Regions from separate parts of the Homo sapiens genome. Here region 2 is linked to region 1. Evidence: promoter capture Hi-C in human tissues and cell types (Jung and others, 2019). All regions are on one chromosome and are shown on one strand. Each heading gives the region's core, a stretch centred on a gene start or on the middle of the fragment in contact. The rest is flanking DNA. Distances are from core to core; before and after follow the strand shown. Region 1 holds the start of EPHX3 (epoxide hydrolase 3). Region 2 overlaps TPM4 (tropomyosin 4).

Evidence for each region. The method cuts DNA at HindIII sites, captures the fragments that hold promoters and counts their contacts. A contact is called where the count stands out against the background at its distance.
Region 2: a fragment that was not itself captured here is called in contact with the fragment with the promoter of EPHX3 in region 1 in 1 of the 25 tissues and cell types used here (dorsolateral prefrontal cortex).

What each region holds. Positions count from the first base shown.
Region 1 is chr19:15,229,513-15,234,305 of GRCh38, forward strand. EPHX3 (epoxide hydrolase 3) reads right to left here and starts at 2,936. Exons shown (of 7, transcript NM_024794.3): 1 at 2,457-2,936; 2 at 2,264-2,349; 3 at 1,727-1,884; 4 at 1,450-1,578. The coding sequence starts at 2,699. RefSeq lists an enhancer at 2,686-3,187 and a silencer at 3,526-3,685. The HindIII fragment of the contact is 16,546 bases long and covers 1-4,793 here.
Region 2 is chr19:16,085,231-16,090,023 of GRCh38, forward strand. It overlaps TPM4 (tropomyosin 4), which reads left to right. Exons shown (of 8, transcript NM_003290.3): 3 at 1,193-1,310; 4 at 2,797-2,867; 5 at 3,815-3,890. Among named protein-coding and RNA genes, the nearest start is that of TPM4, 11 kb to the left of the region's middle. RefSeq lists an enhancer at 1,258-1,307. The HindIII fragment of the contact is 7,259 bases long and covers 1-4,793 here.

The DNA of each region.
Region 1 (4,793 bases), core at 1,686-4,185:
AATCACTTGAACCTGAGAGGCGGAGGTTGCCGTGAGCCGACATTGCGCCACTGCACTGCACAGAGTGAGACTCCATCTCAAGAAAAAAAAAAAAAAAAGGGGCCAGGCGTGGTGGCTCACGCCTATACTCCCAGCACTTTGAGAGGCCAAGGTGGGCAGATCACAAGGTCAGGAGATCAAGACCATCTTGGCCAACATGGTGAAACCCCGTCTCTACTAAAATACAAAAAATTAGCCCGGCATGGTGGCCTGTAATCCCAGCTACTTGGGAGGCTGAGGCAGGGGAATCGCTTGAACCTGGGAGGCGGAGGTTGCAGTGAACTGAGATCACGCCACTGCACTCCAGCCTGGCGACAGAGCAAGACTCTGTCTCAAAAAAAAAAAAAAAAAAAAAAAAAAGAAAAGAAAAGAAAAAGAAAAAAAACAACAAAAGAGAGAGAGAGAGCACAGTTATGACCACAGTGCTGCATATTAACATCAGGTGATATGATAGACATTGTTAACCTCCCCAGCCTCAGTTTCCTCCAGCTGGAACATGGGGATAATACAACCTTCATAAGCCCAGGAGCCTTAAGTAGGTTACTGTGTGCATATTCCTTGTTACTGTAAGTGCTATAAAAAAATGTGGATTACTCCTAAGTGTATTGTGATTTATTTTATTTTATTTTATTTTTGAGACAGAGTCTCACTCTGTCATCCAGGCTGGAGTGCAGTGGTGCGATCTTGGCTTACTGCAACCTCCACTTCTCAGGTTCAAGTGATTCTCTTGCCTCAGCCTCCCGAGTAGCTGAGACTACAAGCGTGCACTACCATGCCTGGCTGATTTTTTTGTATTTTTAGTAGAGACGGGGTTTCACCATGTTGGCCAGGCTGGTCTTGAACCCCTGGGCTCAAGCAATCCACCGGCTTTGGCCTCCCAAAGTGCAGGGATTACAGGCAGGAGCCACCACGCCTGGCCATACTTTATTTTATTTATTTATTTTTTGAGATGGAGTTTTGCTCTTGTTGCCTAGGCTGGAGTGCAATGGCATGATCTCAGCTCACTGCAACCTCCACCTCCCAGGTTCAAGAGATTCTCCTGCATCAGCCTCCCGAGTAGCTGGGATTACAGGCATGCACCACCAATGCCTGGCTAATTACATTTTTTTTTTTTTTTTGTAGAGACAGTTGGGGTCTTGCTATGTTGACCAGACTGGTCTTGAACTCCTGGCCTCAAGTGATCCTCCCACCTCAGCCTCCCGGAGGGCTGGGATTACAGGTGTGAGCCACTGGGTCTGGCGTGTCATTAATTTCCGAATGAGGAGTTCCACAACCGAAGGGACCTGGGTTGATTGCTGCACCCTCAGCCCCTGATGTGTTGACAGGTATACAGAGAATTGAAAACACAGACACATGTCCCTGCCCCCTTGCACATAAGTACATCCCAGTGTCCCGGACTCCCACACACACCTTGGTACACCGACATGGGGGCACCACTGACCACAACCATCCGCTCGACCAGGGATGGGTAGTAGATGGAGAAATGCCAGGCAAGGAGGGCACCCCAGTCATGGGCCACAAGGATGCACTTCGAGTAACCTGTGGGAATTCAAGGAGCTCGCATAAGTGAGGTGCCCAGTAGGACTGAAGCAGGGATGGGGGAAGTAGGTTCCAGCAAGGAGAAAGCGGGGGTATGCGTGTGTGCAGGATGAGGGAGGCCACGCCTAGGATGGGGGTATGTCTGCACCCAGGCCTAGGATGACATCTTTGATGTCCACCAGCAGCAGGTCGATTGTGTAGCAGTCCACATCCCGAGGTGCATCCGAGGGGCCATAGCCTCGCAAGTCCACAGCCACAACATGGAAGCGGCTCTGGAACTCCCGGAGCTGGTAACGCCAGGAGAACCTGCCAGGCGGGCGAGGGAGGGAGGCTGAGTCAGGGCCCTCAGGTTGCACCTGCACCCTACGCACATCAGCAACCATTGGCAAACCCTCCTTCCTGCTCTAAACTTCCCCTAAAAGGAGGATGGGGAATCCCAGGCAGAGGCAGAGGCTGAGGCTGAAGCCAGCTACACCCTGAATCCAGGGAACTTCAATCAACCTCAATACCCCTTTGTCCTGTCCCTTCAGGGCCTAGGGATCCTGGGTATGCTGGCTCAGTACCCCTATCCCCATCTATGTTCAGCTTGTCCCGATCTATACAGCCCTCCTCCCTGCCTCTTGGGAGCCCAAGCTCCACCTGCCCCCGAGTCCCGTGGGCCTCAGGCCCCTGGCCCCAGACGTACCAGTTCTCAGGGAAGCCGTGCAGAAACAGCATGAGGGGTCCGTTACCTCGTCCAGCCGAGACATAGTGCAGACGCAGGCCCGAGCTCTAGGGGGAGGGCACAGCCTGAAGCCTGGGGAACCCTCTCTCCCGAGGCTTGAACCGTCTCGACCCCACGCGACCCCGCAGCCCCGATAGCGCCCCCGTGCGATCACCTTGAGGTTCAGGAAACCGTGCTCACCCAGCGAGGGGTCGCTCAGGCAGGCGGGGGACGCGCTCCGACGGCGCCCGCAGCAGCCGCGCCGGGGCCGGCACAGCACGTGCGTGAGCGCTATGCAGCCGTAGACCGCCGCGGCCACCAGCGCCACCGAGAACACCAGGCTCCACATGAAGGCGCGCAGCAGCTTCAGCGACAGGCGCGACGGCGCCAGCAGCGCGGTCACCACCAGCTCCGGCATGTCGCCGCGCTCCGGGACCACGGCGGCGCTGCCGGCCAGGGGCACCTGCAGCAGCGGCGAAGCGGTGTCAGGGCTCAGGGGCCCATCGCCCTTGGCCTGGGGCCCCTCCGTGCCGTCGGGATTTGTGGGACGCGCTGAAGGAAGAGGCGGGCGGCTCCGACAGAAAACAGCCAGAGCGCACCACTCACCTGAGTGCCAGGTAAACACCTGGGCGCGACAGGGACAGGAAACAAGGGTAGGGTGCGGAGGCTGGGGAGGAAGAGGTTGGAAAGGGGGGAAATAAATGGGCGGGGCCTAGCAGGTCCTGTGCGGGGCTTAGGGCCGGGGCGGGGCCCAGGAAGACTCAGCAGCGGGTGGGTGAGGGTCTAAAGGCGGCAATTCCGGGCCGGGTGCGGTGGCTCACGCCTGTAATCCCAGCACTTTGGTAGGCCGAGGCGGGCGGATCACCTGAGATCAAGAGCTCGAGACCAGCCTGGGCAACGTGGTGAAACCCCGTCTCTACTAAAAATACAAAAATTAGCTGGGCGTGGTGGCGGGCGCCTGTAGTCCCAGCTACTTGGGAGGCTGAGGCAGGAGAATCGCTTGAACCCGGGACGTGGAGGTTGCAGTGAGCTGAGATCGCGCCACTGTACTCCAGCCTGGGTCACAACAGGGAAACTCCGTCTCAAAAAAGAAAAAAAAAAAAGGCAATTCCGAGCCCAGACAAACCTTAAGGAGGGGATCCTGGATCTTCAGTTAAGTGGGCGACACCTGGAGTGAGGGGCGGGGCATATGCAGAGTAGGTGCGGCCTACAAGCCAAAAAGGAGAAAGAGTTGGAATGGTGGGCCTGGCTTATGCGGGTGGGCGGGGAGAGGGTGGATCCTAGAGGAGGTGAGGCCTAACATTGGGCGAAGAAGGCGGGAGCCTGGGCCAATGAGCTGACGGTAGGCCGGGGAGGGGGCGGTGGGGTGGGGTGGGCAATGGGCAATGAGACGGAGGGCGGGGCCGGGACCTAATATGGCGGGTCAGGAGGGTCTGGAAGACGAAGAAGAGGGACAGGCAATGCCAGGTCTAGGACTAGGAGGGAGGCGCGGGCGGTATTAGCGGCTGGAGGAGGCTTCGGGAGGCCCGGCCGACGGCCGCCGCCTGGTGCTACCCACCCAGGGGCGCGCGACCCTCCCTTCGGTCTGGCTCCAAAGACCTAGCAGCACTGACTTCACCCAGCTGTGGTTCCAACGGCGGGTCCAGCGGCCTCGGCCCGGCGCCGTCCTCCTGCTGGCCCAACAGGCCCGCCAGCCCGCCCCTGTACGTCTGTGATTGGACGGCGGCGGCCACTGATGTTCAAGCGACAGGTCCTGGCCCGGGAGCCAATCTGCAGGTGTTGAGGCCCAGGCTCCGAGAGCGGGCCGAGGAGGCGTGGATACCCTGATTCCTAGGGGGCAGGCCTGGTTCCCCCGAGGAGGACCCGGCCTATGAATGACTGGAGTTCTGGGGTTCTGGCCGAAAGAGGAAGTGGGACAGGGCCGGGTGTGATGGGGCCTAGAGTCACAGAGCCTTGCGGCCCTGCTGTCCCTGCAAGAAGCCAGCTTCTGGCCAGGCGCGGTGGCTCACGCCTGTAATCCCAGCACTTTGGGAGGCCGAGGCGGGCGGATCACGAGGTCAGGAGATCGAGACCATCCTAACATGGTGAAACCCTGTCTCTACTAAAAATACAAAAAATTAGCCAGGCGTGGTGGCGGGCGCCTGTAGTCCCAGCTACTAGGGAGGCTGAGGCAGGAGAACGGCGTGAACCCAGGAGGCGGAGGTTGCAGTGAGCTGAGATTGCGCCACTGCACTCCAGCCAGGGCGACAGAGCGAGACTCCGTCTCAAAAAAAAAAAAAAAAGCAGCCAGCTTCTTCCTCCTATTTTGCAACCTTCTCCCGATATCCTTGAACATTTTAGGGACAGCCATCACTTAACCATAGAGCAACCCTATTAAGTCTAAGTAGCATAATCACATTCCTGTAGTATAGATCATGAACCTGAAATTCGAGGATGAAGTCATTTGCCTGAAGACATACATCTTGTAAAATAGCCATCCGCAAAGATGTAGGGAAAAAGGCAGCGATCTGTG
Region 2 (4,793 bases), core at 1,476-3,975, 860 kb after region 1:
CAACAGAGTGAGAACCTGTCTCAAGAAAAAAAATAAATAAATACACAACGTCTTGCTCTGTCACCCAGGCTGGAGAGCAGTGGTGCAATCACGACTCACCGCAGCCTTGAACTCCTGGGCTCAAGCGATCCTCCTACCTCAGCAACATTGCAAAACCCCCACCTCCACAAAAAATTTTTTTTTAGTTTAGCTGGGTGCAGTGGTGCACACCTATAGTCCCAGCTACTCAGGAGGCCGAGGCAACAGGATTGCTTGAGCCTGAGAGGACAAGGCTGCCGTGAGCTCTCAGGGCACCACTGCACTCCAACCTGGGCAACAGAGTGAGACACCATCTCTCAAAATAAAAGAAAAAGAAAGGGGGCACAGACTCTGGAGTCAGACTGCCAAGGGCTGAGCCTCAGCTCTACCACTTACCAGCTCTGTAACCTTAAGTTACTTACCCTCTCTCTATGCCTTAGTTTCTTCATTTGTAAAATGTGGATAATTTACCTGCTCCATAGGGCAGTTGTGAAAGTGAAGGCACTTAGAAAAGTGCCTGGTAGTAAAGATGAAGGGAGGCTGGGCGCGGTGGCTCACACCTGTAATCCCAGCACTCTGGGAGGTCAAGGCGGGCAGATCACTTGAGGTCAGGAGTTCCAGACCAGCCTGGCCAACATGGCGAAACCCCCTCTCTACTAAAAATATAAAAGTTAGCCGGTCACGGTGGTGCATGCCTATAGTCCCGGCTATGCTGGAGGCTGAGACAGGAGAATTGCTTGAACCCAGGAGATGGAGGCTGCAGTGAGCTGAGATCACACTACTGCACTCCAGCCTGGGTGACAGAGCGAGACTCCATCTCAAAAAAAAAAAAAAAAACCAAGATGAAGGAAATGTGTGCACAGAGTTCCATCTTTGCAGTGTGTTACAGTGCTCAGTAGATTCAGAGACTCATTTAGATGAGAGATGGGACTAGGGGTGGTGTCTCACGCAATTAGCCAGACATGGTGACGGGTGCCTGTAATTCCAGCTACTCAGGAGGCTGAGGCAGGAGAATCGCTTGAACCCGGGAGGTGGAGGTTGCAGTGAGCTGAGATCGTGCCACTGCACTCCAGCCTGGATGACAGAGCGAGACTCCATCTGAAAGAAAAGATAGATGAGAGGTGGGTGGAGGGGTGTGAGTGAACGGCCGTCCTGATGAGATTGCTCCTTGCAGAGGAATGAAGGTGATAGAAAACCGGGCCATGAAGGATGAGGAGAAGATGGAGATTCAGGAGATGCAGCTCAAAGAGGCCAAGCACATTGCGGAAGAGGCTGACCGCAAATACGAGGAGGTGAGTGGGGCTGGCAGATGGCGCAGCAGCAGGAAGTGGGAGGAAATGCATCTGCTGAGATAGGGAGGACACCGGGGCCAACGAAAGGAAGCTCTCGGTTAGGTCAGCTGTCCTCCTGCGTGAACATATGTTTGTCCAGAGACAACCACTTGGCTAGGAAACTATCTCCCACGATGCCAGAAAGTGCTGCGGACGCTTGTCTAACGTAATGGGAAAACCGAATGATCAGCTCACTTGTGTCGTTAGCTGGGAGTTTTGGCACAGTTGGGCAAAAATGGAGGATTGTGGTCCCAAGCCATGGAGTTTCAGACCATGCAAGCTCAGGCCCTCCTTTGCCTCCCTCGATGGCTCGGCTCTTCCCTCCCGCCTCTTGTCTGCCTCGCTCCTCAGGCTTGAGGAAGAGAATCAGGATTTCCTCCAGGCCCCAGGATGGCTCTTTCAGTTGAAGCGCCAGCAAAAGGCCAGGCGCGGTGGCTCGTACCTGTAACCCCAGCACTTCGACCGAGGCGGGAGGATCACCTGAGGCCAGGAGTTTGAGACCAGCCTGGGCAACATAGTGAGACCCCATTTCTAAAAATAATAATAATAATAATTAGCTGGGTGTGGTGGCATGCACCTGTAGTCCCAGCTACTTGGGAGGCTGAGGCAGGAGGATCGCTTGAACCTGGGAAGTCAAGGCTGCAGTGAGCTCTGACCACGCCACTGCACTCCAGCCTTGGAGACAGAGCAAGACCCTCTGTCAAAAACATAAAAGGGCTGGGCATGGTGGCTCACGCCGGTAATCCCAGCACTTTGGGAGGCCAAGGCAGGCAGATCACCTGAGGTCAGGAGTTCATGACCAGCCTGGCCAACGTGGTGAAACCCTGTCTCTACAAAAAATACAAAAATTAGCCGGGCATGGTCGTGCATGCCTGTAAGCCCAGCTATTTGGAAGGCTGAGACAGGAGATTCACTTGAACCCAGGAGGCAGAGGTTGCAGTGAGTCAAGGTTGAGCCACTGCATTTCAGCCTGGGTGATGGAGCGAGACTCTGTCTCAAAAGAATAAAAAAATAAAAAAGAGGCCAGGTGTGGTGGCTCATGCCTATAATCCCAGCACTCTGGGAGGCCGAGGTAGGTGGATCAGGAGGTCAGGAATTCGAGACCAGCCTGGCCACTACGGTGAAACCCCATCTCGACTGAAAATACAAAAATTAGCTGGGCGTGGTGGCACGCGCCTGTAGTCCCAGCTACTTGGAAGGCTGAGGCAGGAGAATCGCTTGAACCCAGGAGGTGGAGGTTGCAGTGAGCCGAGACTGTGCCACTGCACTCCAGCCTGGGCAACAGAGGGAGACTCCGTCCCCCTGCAAAAAAAAGAAACACCAGAAAAACCCATGTTGCAGCTGGTCTAGGGGTCTGGGTGGGGCATCATTGGGGGCTGTCTGCAGTGGATGGGAGAGGACACGGCTGGTGGGGATCGGGCTCAGCTGGGCCTTTCTGTCTCTGCAGGTAGCTCGTAAGCTGGTCATCCTGGAGGGTGAGCTGGAGAGGGCAGAGGAGCGTGCGGAGGTGTCTGAACTGTGAGTGGCAGAACAGGACTGAGCGAGGCTGGCTCGATTCCTGGGGCGGAGTGGGAAGGAGCTGGCTGTGTTGGGAATTGGCTCTGACCGGGGTCTCTGCTCAAGTGGACGGGCGTCAGGGGCTCATGGCTCATCTTTTCTCTTGGCTTCTGTGACAAAGAGGTGGTGACTTGTTCTTACTGCCATGGGAAGCACTGCCCACGTGTTGACCCTTTCTGCAAAGATATGAGGAAATAGGAGTGAGACAGGAGGCAGCAGGGAAGCCCAGAAGTCCCATTTTCCCAGAGAGGATATCTCAGGGGGCTGTGCCATCTTAACAGAACACTGACCTGCTCCAGAAGGCAGGCTCCCCCGGTCAGTATGTAAATGCTTTTGCTCCTGTCAGTGTTTGGCCGTGACACATTCCTGGCGGGAAGGTGAGAAGCTTAACCAGAATCCCACAAGCAAGCACCGAAAAACAAAACACCTGTCCTCTTGGCCCCGGGTGAGGAATTCAGCCCCACAGAGCATCCGGGAGTGCTGAGAGAGATCTGGTTTCACAAATCCACTCCGGGCTTCCTTCCCGGAGTGTCCCCTGCAAACTCCCATTGCTCTCTGCCCGCCTTCTGCCCTCAGTCCCATTCTTACACCTTCCGGAGTCGGCCTCATCAATCATAGATTTCACAAGTCCTTGCAGCCTTACCCTTGGCAAAAGACCAGGAGTGTTTTCCAAGCCCTCCAAATACTCTTCGGGCGCACCTCGCCTCTGCCTGGTATGATAAGCCTTTGATAAGCCCATAGTATCACACTGCAGAAAAATCCATTAACATTTTCTCCCCACATTCCTTCTGCCCCCCACCGGGGGAGCTGTGTAGGTTTCTCCTTTGGAAAATTTATTGTTGGGGCGATTGCTATTATTGCCGGCTGTAAGGGAAGATAAGACACAAAAATCCTTTGTCTTTGTGCAGAAAATGTGGTGACCTGGAAGAAGAACTCAAGAATGTTACTAACAATCTGAAATCTCTGGAGGCTGCATCTGAAAAGGTAGGTGGTTGGCTTGAGCTGGAGGGTGGCTTGCTGGACTTTGTTCTTTTCTTCTCCCGAGGGATGCAGGAGCCTGTCAGGTTATGGGGAATCTGCCCTTTATTTAACAGTAGCGTTGGTGCCTGGCAGCCAGGGTTTTTCCCCTACAGAAAGAGCTGGATTTCTCCTGCACACTCTTGAGTCCTCTTCCATGGGGTCTGAGCACCATCTTTGATCTCCATCTCAGGAGGATAGAGATAGAACATGAGGCTCTTCTTAGCGAGATCTGAGCATAGTTGTATAAATAAATACAGAGCCTGCCTCTCACCTGATTCCCCTGGTTCCTCCAGAAATACCATCTCAAAGGTATAGCAATGATCAGAGGTGGAATTGGGCTTTTTAGTTTGAAACAGCACCCAAAGCAGTTGCTACGTGGCAGCTACGTCGGGAACAAAGGACACACTTCCACGGCCGAACCCCACTGAATTTCCCAGCCTCTTCCTCATTCTTGCTCCTGCTTTTGCAGTTTCACAGACATTCTTTGTTCTCCCATCACCTCCACCCCCCACTTTTTTTTTTTTTTTTTTGAGACAGAGCTTCGCTCTGTTGCCCAGGCTGGAATTCAGTGGCATGATCATAGTTCATTGCAGCCTTGAACTCCCAGGCTCAAGCGATCCTCCCACCTCAGCCACCACCTGCTATTCACTCAACTGGGTGTGGCTTTCCTTTTGCTTGATAAACCCCTATTCAGCCTTTTTTTTTCTTTTCTTTTTTTTTGAGACAGGGTCTCACTCTGTCACCCAGGCTGGAGTGAAGTGGCGTGATCTCAGCTTACTGCAGCCTTCGACTCCCAAGTTCAAGCAATTCTCCCACCTCAGCCTCCCGATTACACGCTAATTTTTATAATTTTTGGTAGAGATGAGG